Linked DNA regions of Homo sapiens: region 2 is linked to region 1. The links are contacts of gene promoters, found by promoter capture Hi-C in blood cells and fetal thymus (Javierre and others, 2016). All regions are on one chromosome and are shown on one strand. The core of a region is centred on a gene start or on the middle of the fragment in contact, and the rest is flanking DNA. Distances in the headings are between cores, read along the strand shown.

The links. Contacts are between HindIII fragments. The CHiCAGO score rates a contact against its expected background, and 5 or more counts as called.
Region 2: a fragment that was not itself captured here is called in contact with the fragment with the promoter of LINC02881 in region 1 in 2 of 17 cell types (endothelial precursors and erythroblasts); the score reaches 6.2 in endothelial precursors.

What each region holds. Positions count from the first base shown.
Region 1 is chr10:44,288,619-44,295,572 of GRCh38, forward strand. It overlaps LINC02881 (long intergenic non-protein coding RNA 2881), which reads left to right and starts at 4,132. Exons shown (of 3, transcript NR_164139.1): 1 at 4,132-4,315; 2 at 4,683-4,871; 3 at 5,295-6,031. LOC124902544 (a long non-coding RNA gene) reads right to left here. Exons shown (of 3, transcript XR_007062369.1): 3 at 5,296-6,336. The HindIII fragment of the contact is 4,267 bases long and covers 1,533-5,799 here.
Region 2 is chr10:43,857,347-43,864,300 of GRCh38, forward strand. It overlaps LINC00840 (long intergenic non-protein coding RNA 840), which reads left to right and starts at 2,065. Exons shown (of 5, transcript NR_038268.1): 1 at 2,065-3,014; 2 at 4,533-4,581. RefSeq lists enhancers at 5,654-6,154, 6,155-6,655. The HindIII fragment of the contact is 1,536 bases long and covers 2,094-3,629 here.

The DNA.
Region 1 (6,954 bases), core at 2,882-5,381:
TCACATGATAACTGCCTAACATTATGAGTTACAGAAGTGATTAACAAAGAAATAACTCGAGATGATGCCTGACTTTGTTTAACGAACTAGTCAAGCATAATTGTTAAGAATGAATACATTAAATAAATATAAACGGAATAAAAGTTTATAAACAAAATTTTCATAATTTCAAAAATCTTTTTCAGAAACTTAATCTTAAAGTCATATTATGTTAAATTAATAGGTAATTATAAAATACTTGAGTCATTTATATGATATAGAAAAACTAAATATATTTAGATCTGTTAATAAGGAAAAGTTATGAAATAGTTTTCATCTACAAGTACTGGTATAAGAGTTCAAAATTTACTTTTTAGGTTTTTCACTGGAAATTAGGGTTACTAATGTTACCGGTGGAAGGTATCCAAGTTACCAGTGGTGAATCCATACAGATCTGCAGCAATCTCAGTTTTTGCCTCCTCAGAAGAAATAATTCAACTAAGGGGCATATAGCAGAAAGAGACTGAGGCAAGTTTCAGAGCAGGAGTGGAAGATTATTTAGACAGGCGTTAGAACAGGAGAGAAAAGAAGGTTCACTTGGAAGAGACCCAAGTGGGCACCAAAGGTCAAGAGTGGTGTTTAACCTTGACTCTAAGACTTTATAGGCTGGCCTCTTTGCCATGATCCTTCCCTTAGGGGGAGCTGCCCACATACGCAGTGCCCTCCTTACCCTTGGGAAGTGAGCATGCGCAGTGTGTTCAGGAAGTTGTATGCATTCCCATCTGAGACTTTCCTCCCTTTTCCAGTGGTGTGGCCCCAGAAGGTCATACTTCACCATTTTGTCTCTTAACGTAGATGTCCAGGAATTTGCTTCTCCCTGGCGCCTGCATTCAGTTAAATAACATTTTAGTGAAACAGACTTGACCATCAGGAAATGGCCTCTCTCTGGTGCTTTTTTATCACTTTTGTTTTATTTATTTTATTTATCACTTTTAGAGAGACAATGTGATAATTGCCAAACCAGCACCTAATGTTCCTAGTGGGTGGGGAGCCCTTTCCTGCCCCACTCATGCCTGTCTAACTACCTGCAGCACTAAGAGTCAATGTTATAGCTAATATGTATAATTAAAACTACTTGCTATAGGAAAAACCTCTATTATAGAGCATATAAAGGAAGTAAGATGCAAAGAAAGTTGAAAAGAGAAAGTGATTTTTTTCTTTTACATGACTGAGGACTTTGTGGTCAAAACAATAAAGAAGAGAGAAAATCACATTTTTATAGAATCCCAATGCAAAAAGAGAAAGTATAAGACAAAACTGGAGGTTTAAGTAAGTTGTAGGTTTGTGAAAGATGAATCTTGCGAAAAGAATTTTGTGTGTGAGCAAGTTGGCTAAAATTATACGAGAATTATTTCAAGTTTTTCTAAAGATTGAGCATTAATATGAAAAGCACACTAATGCAAGGCCAGAGTCCTGGCTCCTATGTTTGAACAATAGGGTTTTCCCTATAATTTTAACAGAAAATTATAAAAGATTATAAGAGGTTTATGGAAAGCTTATCTTGCATGGTCAAAACTGATTCAGACTGGATGGATTTATTTATAAGTCTTTATTAAACTTAGCTTTAGCATTAATAATATACTGACACAAATGTAGAATATGCTTTCCTCTTTTGAACAAGATTTTAATGTAGTATTAATAAGGATAGTAAAAGGCTTTTGTTCAACTTTTGAGTAAACTGCAAAAAAAGATCTTTATTAGGTCTTTTGATTATTTAGATAACTGAGTCTTCTCTCTCAAAGAGTAAAGGTTGTTTGAAATTTTTGAATTATTGCTTTGGTTAAATGAATGACTATTATTTACAGTGAACTGTGATCCTAATTTGATCAAGTGTTTTAAACCTTTAATATTTGATATACTACCCAAAGTCAAATTTCAGTTTCTAAAATTAAATCTTTTCCAAAAGTAACCTCTAGAAATCTAAGAAAGATATATTTAGCTTATTTGGTATGTTAAAATCATATGGGAAGCATTGTCAAATCTCAAATAAATAATGGAGTTTAATTTTTTAGTCATATTTTTCTGAATATGTTATTATTTTGATATATCATGATATATGTTGTCAAGCATAATTATGATTTATCCTTGGTAAAAACGGGGAAACGGGAGAGAAAAATTGCATTTCAGAAGACAAGTACAGTATGCCTGTTATCAGATTCTAGTCTTGCCCATTGTTTTTGAGTTTTTATTATTTTCCTACAATTTGGACTAAATCCTGAATTCTTTCTTGGCTGCAAGTCTTCAAACTAATGCTTTTGAACTTTTCTCTCATTTTTCTCACTTGGAATCACTAGAATTTAAAACTGCTTTTCTTGAAGCCCTGCAAACTAAAGTTAGACAACTTGATATAAACTTCAGGAGGAGTCAGCACAGCAACTCACATGTACACAGCCTTTGTGCCTGCTGATGTATGGGCTACTCAGGAAGTTCACATGAACACGTAATTCAAACTATAATCCAGGAAAATCTGTAAGATTACCACTACAATCTGAAGATACTTCTGAGACTCTAGAAAAACTAGTTTATTATGGACTATTCCAGACATTAAGAAAAACCTTTGTTTTTCTTTGTTTCCATAGAAATGCCTCTTATTAAAGACCAGCTTGCCTGCATCAGCTGTAGAAGCCCAGCCCCTCTGTAGTGCCACCTCCTAGAATGGACACAGCTGTTTGACCAAATGCTTCTACTCTTAGGACTAAGAGACTGATTCAAGAAGATATGGGACAACATATTTATTTATTTTTCTTTTCTGCTTATCCCAATTTGTTTTTTCCCCTTCTTTGCCTTCTTTTCCTCTAACCCAAATCTCTCCATAATCACTGATTCAGCTGTTGATAATGTGAAATTCTAGGGAAGTTCCAAACAGGAGGATTGAAGGAGCGCAGGGAACTTGGCCCCAAAATATGGCTCCCTGGTATGAGTATTTTCAATTAAAGTCCCTCAAGATCAACAGAAGCTGGAAGAGTCCTCTCCCTTATCTACATGAAGACCCTGCAGACCCACCAAAGAGAACAATTACTTTTCCTTCTCCTCCCTCTTATCTCATTATCTATTGCAGAAAAGAAAACCAACACGTGACCACACCTGAACAGACGCTTTCAAAAAAATAATCCATTTCTCCAGCTTATTAAATTTTCAAAGAGAACCATTTACGAATAACTCTCTGTTTCTTGACCCATTCATTCTCCTTAATAATAATTTATTGCCCCTCAACAGAATCACCTACATTCCGCCTTCCACCCTCCTCTCTGAAAAAACGCTGTATAAGTATCTGGACCTCATGGGATATTGGGTAATCACCTTATTTTTCCCGTGTACACGTTAATAAATTTGTATGCATTTCTCTTATTAATCTGCATTGTACACTTAAAAAGTATTAAAAGAGTGAAATTTATGTTATGAATATTTTATCACAATAAAACAATATTTTAAAAAACTGACAAAAATTCTTTTTAATTTCTTTCAAGTGAGGAATTACCAACTACTTAACAGGGTGCTTAGAATGGGGGATTTTACCAGATAAGTGGCATGCTTTTTACAATTAACAATTGCTGTTATTTACTGAGTATCCACTTTCTCTGCCAGCTCCTGCGTTAAGCACTTTACATATACTAATTCAAATCCTTAAAAAAGAAAATAAAGAAGAGAAAAGGAAAGAAAAATAAGAACATGTAAGGCTATAAGGTGCCTCATCTTTGCCAAATTCTACAGACTGGCCAGGAGACTGCAGGCCACTGCAGCTTCCTAAGGCCACTCAGGACAAGGCCAGTCCGCAATTTGTTTCACTGTGAGACGGCTGCGCGGTCAGAGCCCAGACACGGTCATCAGACTCCCGGACTTGGATTCAGCTCCACATGGTGTCACCCTGGGTAAAGGATGTACATCTCTGCGTGCCTGGGTTTGTATGGATGGCAGCATGGATGCTCAGGCAACTGACCCGTCAGGACTGCAGCAAATGAACAGAAGCTGGGGGAGAGCGCGGGCTGGTGCTGTACGGAGCTCTGGCGCAGAAGGCGCTCACCAGGGGTGCCCAGAGCCGGGGTCTGTGCGCCGCGGGTTGGATCCGGGTCACAGGCTCTGGGTGGACAGAGTGAGAAGACAAAATGAGGATGTACTCCTCAGATGCTCACGAAAGGCCTCCTTCCCCTTCTTTGGGAACGACCCCCCCCCACCCCCTCCCCCCAACAGGCAGTCCCAGGCCGCGCCAGGACTCGGCCGCAGGCAACTCGGAGGAGCGGGAGCCCAGGGGCCTCAGGAGGGCCTCGGGAGTGGGGAGGTGAAGGGGGCGTCGGGAGGGCCGCGGGTGGGAGGCGGGATAGGGAGGCGGGGAGACTCGGAGCGGGGTTGGGGAGGCGAAGAATGGAGGTGGGGAGGTGGGGAGGGGGGCTTCGGGAGGGCCGCGGGTGGGAGGGGGATGGGGAAGCGAGAAGGGGGGGCGGGGAGGGGGGCCTCGGGAGGACCGCGGGTGGGAGGTGGGTGGGGAGGGGGGCCTGGGGAAGGATGGAGCCCGCTGAAGGCAGGCGATGACGCAGGCCCAGTGTACTTCTCCTGGGGGCTCCTTTCTAGGCCCACGGAAGCTCCGTGTTGGTTTCTTTGTACCCATATCACACTCACTGTATTTCTTCTTTCCTTTCCTCTCCCAGCAGCTGTAAGCGCCCTACAGTTTGCATGGGAAGGCAACAGGGACTTCCCTTTTGCACTGTCTGCGGGTACCGCTGTTCCAGCCCTGAGAGGACGAGGGGACGCTGCGCTGTGGGGAAAGTCCGGGTGGCAGGAGGTGGCGGGGCTCCTGGAGGAGGTGCTGGGATGCGCTGCTGTGGCTGCAGAGAAAGGTCCCGAGGACGCAACCCGTCCCTTCCCCCGAACTGCGAAGGAGCCCCGCGGGGAGGACGGGCAGGGTCTCCCGGAGGGAGGAACAGGGGAGCCTGGAGTCTCAGGGTTGCGGGGAGCAGAGGCGTTCTGGGTGGTGAACGTCCCCAGCCTGCCCTCCCTGCTCACTGCGAGGTCGCGCACCGGCTCTGCTCCAGGCCTTCCCTCAGCCCTGGCCTCCAGGCAGTTTCCATTTTTGCCAGGTGGATTCTGTACGGCTTCATTTATTCAGAATCTGGATCAACAAATGAACACTCAGAGAGGAAAAGGGTGTTTGGAGGGGTGGAGAGGTTTCCAAGCAGGTGCCCACCTGAGGGCCCCCTGAAAGGGGACTTAAAGCCGAGTTTCCAGCTGGGCCACCCTTTTTTTTTCTTTCTTTCTTTCAGAAATATAAACAAAGAGCTTGAATTATTTTGAAATAACTGTTGGTAGCTGGACTGTGTTCTCTTGACCGCAACATTGCTCTGGGACTGAATCGCGTGGGTCTCTGCTCTTCCTAAGTGTTACATAAGAATAGCGAACCCATGAGGTCAGCTTCTAAACCAGTTTCTTCCCATAACCTCCTGGACCAAGTCCCAAGCAAGGCCCAGAGGAGCTCAAGGACCCACTCTCCCCGGGACACTCCTCGCTCTCTAGTTGGAAGGAGGAAATGAATGTCCCCCAGTAATTGAAGGCTGCTCATGTTTGTGTAGAAAAGCCAAGCACAGGCCCATATTCTAGAGGGTTGCTTGCGGCAGGCGGAAGGCCATCGAAGGCAAAACGAAACAAATGAAAAGGCATCTTTTGAAGCTAATGGAACAGATCAGGTGGTCAAAAATGGATAAACAATGGCATTTGGAGCAAAACTTTCAGCTTCTTCGTTTTAGTTCGACAGCCCCAGGAGGGCATGGAAGCTTCTCGCCCTCCTCATATGTCTTGCCCCAGGCATCTCTGTGTCTCTCTCCTCTGTAACATCCTTTATAGTAAATGTAAGTAGGCCTTTCCCTGAGCTCTGTGAGCTGCTCTAGCGAATTATTCAAGTGTTAGGAGGCGTCCTGGGAACATTGATTCGTGGGAACGCCAGTGGGTCAGAAGCACAGGTAAGACCACCTTGCCATTGGCATTGGAAGTGGAGGGCAGGCTTGGGACATGAGGCTTGGGCTTGTGGGGTGTGAGGCCACCTCCAGGTAGAAGGTGTCGATGTTGGAATTGTCCGATGTAGAACTGCCTTCTTGCTTGTGGTGGGGAGAAAACCCACACATTTGGTCACAGAAGTCTTCTGTGTTGATTGTTGTTGAGTGAGAGAAAAAAAGTACTTTGGTTTGTTCTGATATTTTCAGAAAGGCTGTAATCAGTTCCTGGGCAATGCGTCATAATACCTCCGCCTCAGTACACTCCCCATCCTGAGGGGCGGCGCTTGCCATTTCTGAAAGGATGCCTCTGTGGGGCCTGGGAGCAAGGCAAGGCTGTGTCATTTCAGTCCTCTCAGCCCAGTCCCCACCAGGACCTGCCAGCCTGGAGTGAAAATGCATCTTATTGTCCTTCTGTCGCCTTCCAGAGACAGACTCCTAACCAGAACGCACATGGCACACATGCATACACACACATTACACACACATGCCCCACATACATACACACAGGCCCCACATGCATACACACGCACCACACATTCATATGCACACAGCACACATGTAGTCACACATGCCACACATGCATACACACACACCACCCATCCCACCCACATCACATATGATATACACAAGACACACCACACCGCACCGCACCATAGTCACACATGCTAAACATACCACATCATCCACAAATGCACCTACACATGCCACACATCATGCCACACCATGTATGCTACTGCATGTTACACCACCCACACACACCAGACACACTACACACATCACACACACACACCAGACATATTACAACATCCACACAAATATCCCACACATACGACACAATACACACACGCTTGCCACACACACCACAACACACATGCACACGATACCATGTATGCTATACACAAGTGCATGATATACCACCTAGACACACACTTGC
Region 2 (6,954 bases), core at 1,612-4,111, 430 kb before region 1:
ACTCCAGTTCTCACCCTGGAGCCAAGATGGCAAGGTGACAGCATGTCATAACAGCTGTTCAGAGCTAGGACTCAGGGATCAAGCTGAGCTGCACACCAACTGGGGTGCTGTGGGCGAGCAATCCCTTATTATATCTAAGGCAGATAAGAGAAGGAGTTAACCCCTAAGGATCTTGTAAGGATTAAATTAGTTAATGTAGGGAAAGGTGTTAGTTAAATTCCTGGTCCATAGTATCTATTTTATTTTAATTCCTAAGAAAATATAGTATCTCTGTGTCTGCTTCATCGACCAGACTGTATTGCAGATGGTTTAAGACCAGGCAGCAAATTTGAGGTGGAGTCATGGTTATCAGAATGGCTGCCCAGACCACAAAGCTGATTTATCTCAATCATAACAGCAGCAAATTCCTGTTATTGTAGTGAATCACAGCATGTAAGCGCACAGATGCAGGCGCCGGGGTTCAGAGGGCTGGGTTGTGTGGGGAGGGTAACGAAAAACAGACACTTGCAGGGCCCTAACAATGTGTGTAGCAACTGAACCTGCAGCCTGCTTACACAAAACAGGCCTTAATGAAACTCAGTTTCAAAATGGAATATTTTTCCTAAATGATAAGGTATTGCATATGGTTCTTTTCCCATTGTGTAGTAATTCCTTCTAAAGCAAACATTTTAAAGATTTTAACTGAGGTTGGAAAACTAAAACTTGCCTCAGTATAAAAATGTCGAAGCCATCTGCTAGAAAATCACAGCTCTGCGATATAAAACACCCAGAGCTGTGTTGCTCAAACTAATTTAATCACAAAATACCATTTCCTTGATCCGAAGGGAAACATTTCTACTTGGCCACTAGAGCTTTCTGGAGAAAGGCACTTATATTTGCAGTAAGGTATATTAGTAATTTTGAATTTCAAAGAGAAAACAGAGCAGGGATTTTGGAAAACATATGTTGAAAGGGTAATTTCAATTCTTTGCAGATGAGAAAAGTTTTTGTTAAAACAACTGACAGACACTGAGAAACATGGCCATCAGTTTGAAGGAAAGTAATTGAGTTGTGCAGTTTGCATTTTATTTTGCACACGTTTAACAATTAAAAGCTTTTCTGTACTATGAGAACAAAACCCCCCAAACACCAATGCAATGGCAGAAAGTTGGGAGTCAAATCAGGCAGCACACACACGAACACTGTGTTCACATGATGAGGACCACATTTTTGAGACATTTTCTGAAAAGAACCTGTATATGTGTGTGTGTGTATGTATATATTCTTTTTTCCTGCCAGAATCTCTTGTTGAATGATCATCAAGTTAGTTCTGGAAAATAGGTTCCAATATTGCTCCATTCATTGGCATAGGTTGACTTTATCTTATTCCAATTTAATTGGCAGCTGTTTTCTTAGATAGTTTTGCATAAAATGGTGCTCAGAGAACAAGTAGAGTTTTAAACATGACACAGTCGTGTATTTGAGGATGTTTATGTTATATATGTGCTTGTTAATTTAGTAGTTATGAGTTTAATAATAACTTTGAGCTCTTTAGACATGGATCCTCATATATATTAACAAAATCAGCTGTGTGCCTTAACCAACAGTGAGCATATTTTTTAAAATGGGCCTCTGAATTGAAAATTTAAAAAAACCCTTCAGCATCCTATTAGGATTGATTAACCCACAGGAGGGTAATCCTGGTAAGCAAACGTAACCAAGATTCTCCTTCCCCAGTGATTCCAAGTGCAGCCTGGCTCTCCTGGTCAGGTGCTTCCTTTACTCAATATTTCCTGATCTGTTCCTAGATCCTAATACCACCCTCTGCGTCAACCTGTGAATGCATCCTCACTACCAGGGCTCAGGACTTGGAGCCGGGATTTTGCTGACATGGTCTTTTCTCTGGTTGTCACCTTCCATTTCTTCTTTGGTTTGCCTTTCATTTTAATGCCAGATTTTCTAAGTGTAAGAAAGGAGGGTGGAGAGTGGGCAGAAGTCATTGTTTCCATCATGAAAGTCAACATCAGTATTTCCTGTCCTGGGGACAAACCAGTGCCTCATGTTTCTGGAAACGCTGCAGCATTTAACTTCAATTTTAATCTGGATAACGCCAAAGCTTTTCCTCAAATTCACCCCTGGAGTCAGCTCATAGATGCTCTGATTTTGTCTACCATTGCTCCTCCTTAATATCTCTCGCACAGGTGCCATTGACCTTTAGATGGGCTGTACGGTGTGGGGTTCGGTGCCATGGATCTGCTTCTCCAGGGACCAGGATCTTGAGATCTTCAGGCTGGGTTTCCATGGAGGCATGGAGCTGCTTTTCCTCCTTCATAACTGCACTCAAAACAGCCCTGTTGCTCTAGAATGGAGACTTGGGCAACTCCTTCTGGCACAGATTTGTTCACCTCAGGTGAAATTCAGATAGAAGCAAGCTGCAGGCAGTTTCACCTCTAAGTCCATGGGTTCTCAACTGGTAACGTCCTCTTATGGATGTTAGCCCATGAGGTCAATCCTGTAGCAATCTAAGGCTTGAGAAAAATTAATCTTCTGGAAAATTCCAAGAATACATCTTAGGGAAACTGGCTCTACCTTTATGACTTGGATCACACAAGGATATGCTTTTCATCTTGGACTAGAACTGAGAGCCAATGGATGTGTTATCTAAAACTATCCCAGTGTGTTCACTATACAGAGGAAGATTCTGAGATTCAAGACTCAAGACTGAAGAAGATCATTATTTTTATTATTTTAGTCTTATGCACAAAATGATATCTACTGAATAAGCAGGTTTTTAATAGGTGACTTATATATGTTAGCAAAAATAAACACTTTGTCTTTTAGATCTATTCTAGTTTTTCAGTAGCTGTAGACTTAAGTGCTAACTTTTAGCCCATAGGATAAGAAGAAACCAAGTCCTAAAAGTAGGCCAGCACCAGGGTTCAGGCCTCTGACTTCAAGCCAAGGGCTCATCATCTTGAATTGCGCACGAATTTTTACACAGCGCCAAAGGAAACTGCCTGTACTTACTGTTGTAGGTAAGACAAACCTTTGCTTATTTTTACTTCTCATGAATAAATAGTTGCAAGAAGAACTGCTGAAACAAAGGGCATTAATGAGCTTTTGCTACATATAAATAGGGAGTGTGAACCAGCAGTGTGGCGGAAGAACATTTTCCCCTCAACTACGGCAGGACTATGCGATGTTCTCCAATGAGCTCATCTTGTCAATAATGTGTAGACCTTCATGTGCTTTTTAATTATGTGCTGATTTTATTACAAGTGAACCTGTCCTCTTGTTTGTTCCCTTATACATATTCACTGTCTTTATACCTTTCCTTTCCCTCCACGAACTGTCTGCTCATATCTTTTGCCCTTTCAGAGGGAATAGTCTGTTTTTTCTTATAGGCTTATAATATTTTAAATGTAATGATAATGTTAAGATTTTTTTGACATGTACTTTATACTTTCCCAGTTCATTATGTATATTTAAATGTTTCACTAATATTTTAAAACATACATCTTTTCTTAAATTTTCCATGGTTTTATCTCTTAGCCATTATGCTTTTGCTTTCTGTGGTATATTCCTGGGGAGTGTCTCACTGAGACCCTTCGGTTTCTCTAAGTTGGTAACTTTATCTCCCGTGATGAGAAAGCTTTTCAAAGGGAGAGCGTGACCATTTCCATATAGAGTACAGTGTTGTTTTGGGGTTTAAGATTCTATTCCCGGGTGTCATCACTTCTTTTTAAATTTAACTTTGTTATGGAAAATCTTAAGCATATGTAGAAGTAGAACAAATAGTCTAATGAAACCTCACTTGTTCATAACCTGGCTTCAATAATGATCAGTACTTAGCTATTCTTACTTCATCTACCCCTTTACTCTGTGTTTTATTTTTCCTGGAGTATTTTGAAGCAAATTCTAGAAATATATATATATATATATATATATATAAATACCAATATAGTATATATATACACACACACCGTATTGGTATTGATATATATATATATACACCATAAAATATGGATATATTTTACAACATAAAATATGGTGTGTGTGTATATTATATATATAATGTGTATAATACACACACACACACACACACCCTGGAATACTACCCAGCCATAAAAAAGAGTGAAATCATGTCTTTTGCAGTAACATGTATAGAACTGGAGGCCATTATCTCAAATGAAACGACCCAGAAACTGAAAGTCAAATACTGTGTATTCTCATTTATAAGTGGGAGCTAAATAATGTGTAAACATGGACATAGAGTGTGGAATAACAGACGTTGGAGACTCAGAAAGGGGGGAGGTTGGGAGGGCAATGCGGGATGAGAAATTACCTAACAGTTACAATGTATACTAATCAAGTGATGATTACACCAAAAGCCCAGGCCTCATGACTATGAAATCTATCCAGGTAACAAAACTGCACTTGTACACCCTAAATCTATAAAAATAAAAAAAGGAAAAAGCTATAGAATGGAATAGTATACTGCAGTCATAATAAATGAATCTCAGCTAAATATAAAAATCATTGTCCTTTTGCAGGTGCTTTGCTGGATTCAGGATGCAGACAAGGTCCACGCATTGTGGTTGGGTGAGGTGTCTTTTAGGTCTCTTTTAATCTGTAATACTTCTCCCTCTCTTTTAAAAATGCATTTATTTGTTGAAAAAACTTGGTCATGGGTCATTTTTCTGTACAGTGGATTATGTTCTGGATTTAGCTAAATGCCCTCTTGTTGAAGATTTATCTTCCATGCTTCCTGCAGGTGGTTATATCCAATGCTTGATTAAACTCACATTTTTTTTTTTTGGCAAAGCCACTTTATATGAATGCTGTGCATTTCCTGTTGTACCTTCATCACATCAGGAAGCAACAATGTCTGGCCTTCTTGCTTTCAATGTTGTTAAAATTGGTGAGTTCAGGTGTCATGGACCTAGGAGTCACCAATCCTCTACATCTTTATTGACAATTTTCTCCAGAATTCAGAGTCAGTGGTGAGCATAATGGTTGGGAGTGATGGGTTGGAGTCAGACACTCTTCAGTTTGAGTAATAGTTCTGAAAGTCACTTGTTATGCCTGAGCTAGGTTGCTCAACCCCTCAGACCTTTCAGGGCTGACTCAGCTTTAGGAGTGGATACTCCATTTTGTGTGTGGGACTGTTGTTTGAGTGGGGTGAGTTGTGTGAGCTGGACTTTGGCCCAGTCTTGGCAGAGTGGTAGTTGTGATTTAGTGGCATTCGTTTCAAGCAGATGGAATTTGTTTAGATGACCCTAAAGGTCTTTCCAAATCTGACGTACTAGGATGAATTATCAGATGGCTCCTATAGTTGGGTTACCACATATTAACGGTAAATCTGGGGGTAGGAGAGCTCACCATTCAGTTGTAATAGTTCAATAGAGATGACAATTCTGCCAGATTTGGATCCTGTGGGCAGAGCTGAGAGGTCTGTAAATTCACATTCACTCTTCAAATCCTGGTTTATAGCAGCCAGTCAAGTGTGTCACTAAGATGAAGATAAATTATAATGACTACAATTTGGTAATTCATTTACTTTACTGAAATCAGTGCTCAGTCATGTTACAGGCGCGACTCCATCTGGTTCCCATCAATGACAGAGGGAGCATCATGTTTGGACAGAGGGGCTGCATCTGTGTCTATGCAGGGAAAGCTGCATGGATTATCCAGCAAATCATGGTGTAGACCACCAGCTTGGCCAGTCCAGGTCCAAGCCAGCCGGGTGACTCTGTCTTGCTATTTATTCACTTCTGCATTCGACAAGTACTGTGGACACCTGCTGTGTGCCAGGCACTGCTCGAGGTGCTAGGGGGAGATCAGGAAGCAAGAAAAAGTTTCCCTGCCCTCCTGGAGTTGATGCGTATTCCAACTGAGAAGTGGGGGTGTAGCCAACAAACAATGAACATAATCCCCAAATCATAGAGCAAGACATGGGTGATACAAATCATGGCAAAGAAAGCATTGTGCAGACTGAGGGGTTTCTTATTTCCTGAGAAGGACGTGGATTGCAATTTAAGGTGGGATGGGGGTTGGTCCGATATGTGAGCCTGGCTAACAAGATCGGGCAGGAAGTAATGTCTCCTTCAGACCCCGCCTGCCCAGTAGACCACCCGCTTGGCACTGATCTGGGCCTTCGTGTAACCGCCGAGCACAGGAGGGCCATTGCTGCTTGGCATCACTGCCCTGGATGCCGGGATCACAGTGCTGCCCATCCCTCTGCTGCCTCCTCTCTGTGTCCTGTCAGTGGTCCTGAGCTCCATTCCCTCAAGGGTCATCTTCAGGCCATGATTTGCATGTTGGCTCTCTTTGGGGCCCATGGTGCTTCATTTATTCCCAAAGGTGCCTTCTCCTCCCTATTCTGATCGAGACTAAAAGGCCTCCTGATCCCATTGCTTTGCCAGGACAATATTGCTTCCCAGGGAAGACTCTGCTGGCACATTTTAGGCATTTCTGGAAGAACACCATATCACCATCATCACCATCATCATCAGATCTTCCCCAAGTCCCATCTGGGAGGGTCTCATGGGAGCCACATGTGGACTTGGTTAGGGAGCTCTCCTGAGCCTGGACTGATGGCTGGCCCAGCCCAGGCTTTTGTTTGCCACAGGAAGAGAGCTTTGTGCAAACCCTTGTTTAACCTGGCCTTCCCTCTTTAGAAAGAGAATGTTCACCAGATGAATCATGCCTAACATGCTCACTGGAGCCAGAGGACTTTGGCTCCCAGGCTGTTTACTGCAGCTGAGACTTTGTCCCGTAAGTGTTCTTAGGAAATGACAATGGACAGAAAATTGTCATTGTTTTTGCTGAAAAAAAAAAAAAGTTTGAATAGTTTCCTTGGCCCAGGCTGGTTGGTGGCAACCCCGGCCCCAGCATGCTCCTCAGCCGCCTGCTCTCCAGTGTGCCCTTGCCTGTCCACACTGCTCTGCAACCAGGTGCCCTGCTGTGCCCTTG